Regions from separate parts of the Homo sapiens genome. Here regions 2 and 3 are each linked to region 1. Evidence: promoter capture Hi-C in 16 types of primary human blood cells and fetal thymus (Javierre and others, 2016). All regions are on one chromosome and are shown on one strand. The core of a region is centred on a gene start or on the middle of the fragment in contact, and the rest is flanking DNA. Distances in the headings are between cores, read along the strand shown. Region 1 holds the start of MAN1B1 (mannosidase alpha class 1B member 1). Region 2 overlaps LCN8 (lipocalin 8). Region 3 overlaps RABL6 (RAB, member RAS oncogene family like 6).

Region 1 (2,989 bases), core at 171-2,670:
ACTTACACCAGAGACCTAGAAAGTAGTCAGACAGCATCAAATTAACATCTGTGTTCTAGCCAGGTGGTTACATACAGCTCTACCTTTCTCTTTATCTTGATTTCTTGCCAATTCGTTGCCATATATGCCTCCTGGAGCTGTTTAAGGTAGAATGCAAGATTGCTTCTGCCCAATCAACCCTCAACACAGATATCGTTTTCAAGTACACGTGTTTCTGATACCTTTCCAATGGTCAGCCAAGTTGATGTAGAAGAGGAGTCCACAGAAAAGCAGAAAGGCAAGGAGGAAGAGAATCATATTCCGCTGCAATCTCGACAGTTGCTTCCATTTCTAAGGGAGGTACAGAGAATGACATTTCTTACTGAATATATCACACGGAACGTCTCAACTGTCACAAACTGTGAGGACAATAAGGAATTCTTCTGGAAGATCCAGTGTTCAGCTCTATTTCTTTTTTTTTTTGGAAACAGGGTCTCATTCTGTTACACCTAGGCTGGAGTGTAGTGGGTGGAACGCGGGATGAGCCACCGTGCCCGGCCAGCTCTATTTATTTTGAATGGGGAGAAGTTCCCTCTCAGCAGGGAGTAGGAACATTGCTGGGACAATACTACAGATGTCGTTAATACAGTGGTGCAGATGAGACGAGGATAAGAAAAAAGCAGAAACATTTCTGTCACATTTCATCAACAGTGGAGAAAGACTCCTGCGACTCCCACAGATGTAGCCCAGGCACCGCCCAGGCGATGCACAGTCCGCATGTGGTTATCAATGCCCTTCGGCCTGAGACCACCACGAACAGACCAGGAGCCAATCAAGAGGGGCTCATTTCTCACTGTACCGAGGGGAGCATACACCACGGGGAACCTCCGGTTTCCGCTCCAAGAGGGGCAGGCGCCTGGGCCAGGACCTTGCAGAAAAGCGAACGAAGCCCAGAAAACCTGCTGGGGCTCTGAGCCCTCTTCCCACCACCGCCCCGCAGAATTTGGGCCGCTGAGACCGCTGCAGGCGAGCCGCCCACGGCTGCCCCAACCAGGAACGCACATTTGCCCCTTTTTGCGGGGAAGGGGTGGAGAGGGCGGCGCCTGGGGAGTCGAGTCCGCCCGCCCAGGTCCCGCTCGGAGCCGCAGTCTGGGAGGGCGGCGGGCACGGCAGCCCCGGGCCCCAGTCAGCCCGGCGCGACCCTCACCCTCCAGCACGAGCGCCGCCGCCAACTCTTGCTGTTGTCATAGTTCTCGCCAAAGCTCAGCGTCACCGAGATGAAGTCCCGATGAGGCGGCGGCGGCGGCGGTGGGTACATGACTACAGTGGTGGCGACGGCCCAAGGGGCCCCGCCCACTGGCGGCGTCAGGAAGTCCGACTGAGAGGAACCGAGAGCTCCGCTTCTCCTGCCCTCGCAGGCAGCCATCGCAGCGCCGTCAACAGCCCGCCCATCACACGGATACGCGACTGCGCGTGCGCTGCGTCTCTATGCGGCCAGTGCGCCCGCGCCTGTCTCCGCTGCGCTCCAGCGTACGGGGCTGCGTCCTACGGCGACTGCGTCAGACAACTGCTGCGACTCCGCCCTGCCCTCAGGTTCATTGCGCATGCGTCCGGCAGCGCCTGCCCAGGTGTGCTACGAGCGTAGCTGTAGCAACGGGGCGGGCCTTGGTTCGCCTGGGGCGTGGTCGCTGTCTGGGGCTCCCACGTGGTTCGCCTCATGGGCCTGGAGCTGGGCTTCTCTCGCCTCCTGTCGTCTGGCTGCACCGACTTTGCCCACGCCCTCACGGGAGACGCAGACACTAGGGACCCGGGGAGGCGCCCGGGCGGGGCCGCCATGTTGGCAGAGAGTCCCAGCGTCCCGCGCCTCGGTTCCGGAACCCGCGGCGCGGGGATGGAGCTGGGCTGCCCTTGGGCGCCGTCCTGGGCTGGTGCCCACCCTGGCCGCGTGGTCACCGGCAAGAAGCCCAGGGCCTCACCCAGGCGTGGGGGCCGGGGGAAGGACCGGACCCTCCCGAAGTCGCGGACCAGGCCGGGCGGCACCCGGGCTGGGGTGGCTGCTACCCCGAGCTAAGCTGGCTGCGCCGCATCTCACGGTCCCCGGGGCCCGAGCGCTGCGCCTGGACCGGCGCCGAGCGAGGCGGCCAATCGGCCGGCTGGACCCACAGTCCCCGCGCCATAGGCGGGTCGGGGCTTTCAGACCCGGCTCCCAGCCCTCGAACTCGGTAACCTTGGAGGTCAGCTTGAGATGACTGCGCTTCCTGCACGCGTTGTCCTCCCCAGAAACGCCCAAAATGGCAAAGCGGCGTCCGTGGCCGCCCGAGGCCCTCCCTGCCTGGGTTCTCCCCAGCCGAACCTCACGCCCGGCCCCTCCTTCATTCTCTCCTGGCCAGGCTGCTCCTGCCCTTGGGCGAATCCGCTGCGTCCCACGGTCCTGACTGTGGCATTTCTGCGTGTCTGGAGAGCTCCCCCGGCAGCGACGTCCTGCTTAGCACGTGGCTCGTCTAACTCTGTTCCCCTGGCCTCCTGCTCTTCTAGGGGTCATCTTTAGGTTTCTGCTGGTCTCTGCCCCCTGTGACACTTGCTGGTACCCAAATGAAGTCGTTTATGTCACACTCTAACAAGAGGCCCTGAAGAAGCCCTCACAAAAACATTAGCAACGGAGCGCCTGCGGCAAACCCTTCTAACCTTTGGTCTTTATGGTTTCAAAGCAGTTTATGGGAACTTCTCTTTTTTAAAAGATTCCCCTTGGGGCCAGGCGCGGTGGCTTCTGTAATCCCAGGACTTTGGGAGGCCGAGGCAGGTGGATCACTTGAGGTCAGGAGTTCAAGACTAGCCTGGCCAACATGGTGAGACACCCGTCTCTACAAAAAACACAAAAAAATTAGCAGGGCATGGTTGGTGGCAGGCACCTGTAGTCCCAGCTACACGGGAGGCTTAGGCAGGAGAATTCCTTGAACCCAGGAGGTGGAGGTTGCAGTGAGCCGAGATGGCACCACTGCACTCCAGCCTG
Region 2 (2,989 bases), core at 185-2,684, 330 kb after region 1:
GCGTGGGGTCTGGGCTGAGTGCCGTCCCGCTGGTGGGCCAGCACTCCCGGTGCCCGTCTGCCTGAGCCCTCGACCCCCAGGCTCCTGGATCTGCATTTTATCCCAAATATAAGCATAGTGTTTTAATGAAGCCCCGTGAACTTAGAAGGAAGGAAAAGGGGTGTGGGACAGGTGACTGGCTGGAGGGAACAGAATCCCCAGGGGAAGGCCCCACCTGGCACATTCCCCGCCTCATCCTGCTCCAGGCCTGGGATACTCCACAGTGCTGCCTGTGCCCTTCCTAAAGACACAGCCCCACTCCGGGAAGGAGCCCAGCAGGCGGGACACAGGCTAGCATTTTACCGATGGGCACTTTGCTGCCTTTCAGCTCAGGAAGCTGTGAGATAGAGAAGATCGTGGGCTCAGAAATAGACAGTACGGGAAAATTCGCTTTTCCTGGTAAGTGCAGTTGCCCTGTGATGGCAGGTGGAACCCGGCTGTGCACACAGCTAGGCCTTATTGTTCCCCATGCTGTTCCCTGCACTGTTCCCCATGCTGTTCCCTGCACTGTTCTCTGTGCTGTTCCCTGCACTGTTCCCCATGCTGTTCCCTGAACTATTCCCTGTGCTGTTCCCCATGTTGTTCCCTGCACTGCTCCCTGCACTGTTCCACATGCTGTTTCCTGCACTATTCCCCATGCTGTTCCCTGCACTTTTCTCTGCGCCATTCCCCATGCGTTCCCTGCACTGTTCCCTGCACTGTTCCCCATGCTGTTCCCTGCGCTGTTCCCCATGCTGTTCCCTGCACTGTTCCTCATGCTGTTCCCTGCGCTGTTCCACATGCTGTTCCCTGCGCTGTTCCCCATGCTGTTCCCTGCACTGTTCCCCATGCTGTTCCCTGCAATGCTCCCTGCACTGTTCCCCGCACTGCTCCCTGCACTGTTCCCCATGCTGTTTCCTGCACTATTCCCCATGCTGTTCCCTGCACTTTTCTCTGTGCCGTTCCCCATGCATTCCCTGCACTGTTCCCTGCACTGTTCCCCATGCTGTTCCCTGCAATGCTCCCTGCACTGTTCCCCGCACTGCTCCCTGCACTATTCCCCATGCTGTTCCCTGCACTTTTCTCTGTGCCGTTCCCCATGCATTCCCTGCACTGTTCCCTGCACTGTTCCCCATGCTGTTCCCTGCACTGTTCCCCATGCTGTTTCCTGCACCGTTCCCCATGCTGTTCCCTGCAGGGTTCCCTGCACTGTTCCCCATGCTGTTCCCTGCACATTTCATGCCCCAGACCTTCCCATTCTCCCACCAACACACTGGATCATCCTTCAAAAGCTTCTGTAGTGTCTCCAACCACTCAAGTGCTGGGACTGGGTGGGGGCAGGATGGAGTTAGACCCTGCAGACCCTGGCCTTCGAGGTCCGTCCCCCTCAGACGTCTCCCCCAACGCCATGGCCGGCTCTTGAAGGCCACAGAGAGATCCACGTGCTGGACACCGACTACGAGGGCTACGCCATCCTGCGGGTGTCCCTGATGTGGCGGGGCAGGAACTTTCGCGTCCTCAAGTACTTTAGTAAGCTTGGCCCTGGGGGGCTCTGCCCAGCTGCTGCTCTCCCAGGGACTGCCCGCCCAGCCCCCCTGTGCCCCACAGCTCGGAGCCTTGAGGACAAGGACCGGCTGGGGTTCTGGAAGTTTCGGGAGCTGACAGCAGACACTGGTCTCTACCTGGCGGCCCGGCCTGGTGAGCCCAGGGGCCTTGGGGTGGAGGCTGGGCTGGGCCCTGTGGGCTGACTCTGCAGCTCCTCATGCTGGCCTATCCTGCAGGGCGGTGTGCCGAGCTCCTGAAGGAGGTGAGCCTGACCCCCGACCCTGGCCTGTGCTGAAGTTCCCGGGCCCCTGGCCCAGTCCCTGGCCCTGTCAGGAGCCCCCGTGGCTCCGCCTCCCGGCCCTGGGCTGGGCCTTCTCACCCCTTCCTGTGAACAGGACACCAAACACCACTGGTGGGCAGCTCCAGAGATGAGTCTGTCTCCTGGTTTGGAAAGAGCTGGAACCTCCAGGGTGGTGACCCTAGGCTGCCAGGCAGGGACCCTGGGAGGCTGGGGTCACGGGGTGCAGAGCTGGGTGGGGCAGGGGAGCAGAAATGGCGCCTTTTCTTCGGTGTTCTGTGCAGGACTGCCGGCTGCTTCTGCCCCCGAAGGTCCCGTCGGCGGCGGGGCACAGATCCTGCGGGCGCTGCCTCAGGGCTCCCATGTTGGGCACTGCGAGAACCCAGTGTCTCCCTCACCTCGCTTTGTCTTGGCCCTAGAGGCTGGGCCTGTTACCCCATTTTGCAGATTGAGAAGGCGCTCAGGGAGCTGGGTGCTTTGCGCAAAACCAGGCAGCGAGGACAGAAGTCCCGCCGTGTGGCCCTCATCGAAGCCCCGTGGGGCCTCCAGAGACCACACGGGCCTGAGCCCCTGCACTTCTGTGTCGCAGGAGCTGATTTAATGGAGTTCCTGCCTCAGACCACAAGGTTCGGAGCGCCCGCCCACCCCTGCCCCTCCTGGGCACCCTGCCCACCAGGTCACCTGCACCTGCTCTGAATAAACTGTGAAGTCAAGCCACTGCCTGGTGTGTCCTTCCGGAGGGCCGATGGGTGACAGGTGTGGGGGGACTCACCCGCCCCAGGTCTGGCAACAGGAGGTGTGTTTTCCGTGGTTACTGGACAAACAGTGCAGCTCACGTGCAAGGCAGCAACCCCTGCCCTCCCGCCCTGCTAGGGTCGTGGTCAGGCTGCCCCAGGGTATAGACCAGAGACAGAAACAGGGCTCCTGGTGGAGTCTCAGCAGGTCTGTCAAACGCATGGAGGCCACACCCCTCCTGCCTGCATCCTCCATGGCTCCCCACTGCCCAGGGCTCCAGGCTCACGGCCCGTGCTGAAGGCCCTACCCGATGGGCCCCGCTTCCAGCCTCCCTGGACCCCCAGCTGCCCAGCCCTGCTCAGTGTCCGCTTCCACAGTGGGCTGTCACCCCGT
Region 3 (2,989 bases), core at 266-2,765, 280 kb after region 1:
TCTGCCTCCCGGGTTCAAGCGATTCTCCTGCCTCAGCCTCCCGAGTAGCTGGGATTACAGGCATACGCCACCACACCTGGCTAATTTTCATATTTTCAGTAGAGATGAGTTTCATCATGTTGGCCAGGTTGGTCTTGAACTCCTGACCTCATGTAATCCGCCCACCTCAGCCTCCCAAAGTGCTGGGATTACAGGTGTGAGCCACCGTGCCCGGCCTGCTAAGTCCCATTTCTAAATTCGCACCAGTGTCTACTCAGAGAGGACTCTGGTTGTCCGAGCTCCTGGGCCAGGCCAGTATCAGAGCTGCACAATAATGCTCACTCAGGAGCAACTCCACAGAAAAATTCTGCACCAAATACAACTGATATTTTGTGTCCAGTCACAGTAGAAAGGGACAGACCAACTCAGGCAACAATCTTTCTTCCAAATAATTTCAAATAATTTTCCTAATAATTTTATATGCAAATAATTTCAAAATTGTGTAAACCAAAATTAAAATCCCAAGGCCTGCCAACCATCTGAATGGACTTCCTCTTCTAGGCCAGGGCCATCCAAATTTCATCTGAAAGACTGGTTCAGGCCATTATGGGAAGAGGGGAGTCAGACAGGCCTCATTGTGGCCTCCTCCCTTCTGGAATTCAGGAAAAGCTCACCAGCATTTAACATCAACACTGACTTTAAGTCTGATAAGAAACATAATCTGGCCAGGCGCGGTGGCTCACGCCTGTAATCCCAGCACTTTGGGAGGCCAAGGGGTTCGGACTGCTTGAGTAGAGGGGTCTGAGCCCAGCTGGGCAACGTGGTGAAACCCTGTCTCTCTAAAAAATACCAAAATTAGCTGGGTGTGGTGGTGCAATTGTTTTTTTTTTTTTTTTTGAGACAGGGTCTGACTCTGTCACCCAGGCTGGAGTGCAGTGGCACAATCTCAGCTCACTGTAACTTCTGCCACTTGGGCTCAAGCGATTCTCCCGCCTCAGCCTCCTGAGTAGCTGGGATTACAGGCACCCACCATCACACCCGGTTAATTTTTATAGTTTTAGTAGAGACGGGGTTTCGACATGTTGGCCAGGCTGGTCTTGAACTCCTGGCCTCAGGTTGTCCGCCTGCCTCGGCCTCTCAATGTGCTGAGATTACAGGCGTGAGCCACCGCGCCCGGCAAAAAAACACAATTTTTTTAAACTACCTCCGACCTGGAAGCCCCCACTTCAAGTTGTCCCGCCTTTGTGGACCAAATCAACATATATCTTAAATGTATTTGATTACTGTCTCATGTCTAAAATGTATAAAACCAAGCTGTGCCCTCCACCTTGGGCACATGTCCTCAGGGTCACCTGAGGGCTATGTCACGAGCCATGGTCACTCATATTCAGCTCAAAAATAAATCTCTTCAAATATTTGACAGAGTTTGACTTTTTCATCCATTATGGTCCAATGTCTCATTCGAGTTTTTATTCTAAAACCAGTGGGTGTCCCACACGTCTACCGGGACCACTAGCAACTCCGAGCAAATGCAGGGCCCAGGAGGAGAGCCCAGACTCCTGGAAACCCGCAGCAGTTCCCAGAAACTCTCACCCCCAAAACCCTCGACTCTGTCTTGATCACATTGCTGGTCTGTTACGCTCTGTAAAATATTTGAGAAAATAAATACCAGAAAGCCGGGCATGGTGGCTTACGCCTGTAATCCCAGCACTTTGAGAGGCTGAGGCGGGCAGATCACGAGGTCAGGAGATTGAGACCATCCTGGCTAACACGGTGAAATCCTGCCTCTACTAAAAATACAAAAAATTAGCCGGGCGTGGTGGCCGGTGCCTATAGTCCCAGCTACTCGGGAGGCTGAAGCAGGAGAATGGTGTGAACCCGGGAGGAGGAGCTTGCAGTGAGCTGAGATCACGCCACTGCACTCCAGCCTGGGAGACACAGCAAAACGCAAAACTCTGTCTCAAAAAAGAAAAGAAAAGAAAAGAAATACTAGAAACTTTCTATTCTAACACAGAAACTCAAAAGTTTTAAAATTGCATGTTATTCAGCTATAAAGATAACATCTTTCTAAAATGTAATTTAGGTACAAATTCAAATTTCTCTCTGTCTCACCACCTTTCATTCAGTTCTAGGAGATCATAACCTGTTCTCCAAGTACTGGAGACTGGCTTTTCTCCTCTGGAAGGACCCCATTGCCCTTTTTAGTCACACTCGCCCAGGACCACACAGGGGTGGTCCTGGTGCATGAGGTGGACCTTGCCCAGGACCCTCGGGGAGCCTTTTCAGAAGGTGAACAGTTTCCAGGTCCAGGCCTGATTTCCCAGGGACTAATACTGAGCTTAGCCAATACTGTAAGCAATAAAATTAAATAAAGGATCCAAACGCAGAGTCTAAAAACTGGCGTAAACTCAGTTATTTTGACTCAATATTCTCTTCTCCGAATGCCAGCTATGTATAAAGTTTCAATTATAACACATTTAAAATCAGCTTTTATTTTTATTCAAAATGCACCACTTTATTTTCCTTACCAGACAGCCAAGCATTAAGCACGTTCCAGTCACGTGACTTCTTCAGCGAGCCCCCAGGCTTCCACTCCACGGGAGTCTGGGAGCTCCTGGACAGAGGAGTCCTGAGATTTCAAATAGTCAAGCCTTCTCCCCAGCCACAAGTTCCTTTGATGCTTGGGTTACTGAACACAAACGCAATGGATTGTTTGTCTTCAACATAATCCGTTTCTGTTCCTAAACGTGTTGGCTGCGCTTTCTTTCTGATGAGCACGCTGACTCTAATTTGAACTTCATCAAAATCTTCTTTGTCGTCGTATGTTCTAGAGTATAAGAAAAGCCAATACGGCCCTTGGTTCGGACATCAACTTTCTTTTAAATTTTTTTTTCGTATTTTTAGTAGAGACGGTGTTTCACTATGTTGGCCAGGCTGGTCTCGAATTCCTGACCTCGTGATCTGCCCGCCTTGGCCTCCCAAAGTGCTGGGATTACAGGCATGAGCCACC

The links. The method cuts DNA at HindIII sites, captures the fragments that hold promoters and counts their contacts. A CHiCAGO score of 5 or more calls a contact.
Region 2: a fragment that was not itself captured here is called in contact with the fragment with the promoter of MAN1B1 in region 1 in 1 of 17 cell types (activated CD4 T cells); the score reaches 6.6 in activated CD4 T cells.
Region 3: a contact is called between a fragment that was not itself captured here and the fragment with the promoter of MAN1B1 in region 1, in 5 of 17 cell types (naive CD8 T cells, non-activated CD4 T cells, total CD4 T cells and 2 more). The highest score is 7.6, in naive CD8 T cells.

The regions. Positions count from the first base shown.
Region 1 is chr9:137,085,416-137,088,404 of GRCh38, reverse strand. It overlaps MAN1B1 (mannosidase alpha class 1B member 1), which reads right to left and starts at 1,420. Exons shown (of 13, transcript NM_016219.5): 1 at 1,187-1,420; 2 at 222-330. The coding sequence starts at 1,405. MAN1B1-DT (MAN1B1 divergent transcript) reads left to right here and starts at 1,588. Exons shown (of 1, transcript NR_027447.1): 1 at 1,588-2,989. RefSeq lists silencers at 1,057-1,286, 1,837-2,066 and an enhancer at 1,267-1,496. The HindIII fragment of the contact is 12,458 bases long and covers 1-2,989 here.
Region 2 is chr9:136,753,971-136,756,959 of GRCh38, reverse strand. It overlaps LCN8 (lipocalin 8), which reads left to right. Exons shown (of 7, transcript NM_178469.4): 3 at 368-438; 4 at 1,444-1,548; 5 at 1,627-1,716; 6 at 1,800-1,825; 7 at 2,451-2,574. The coding sequence ends at 2,462. Among named protein-coding and RNA genes, the nearest start is that of LCN8, 2.8 kb to the left of the region's middle. The HindIII fragment of the contact is 243 bases long and covers 1,313-1,555 here.
Region 3 is chr9:136,809,505-136,812,493 of GRCh38, reverse strand. All of the region lies in intron 1 of RABL6 (RAB, member RAS oncogene family like 6), which reads right to left. It also overlaps the pseudogene LOC100422233. Among named protein-coding and RNA genes, the nearest start is that of CCDC183-AS1, 2.2 kb to the right of the region's middle. The HindIII fragment of the contact is 3,825 bases long and covers 1-2,989 here.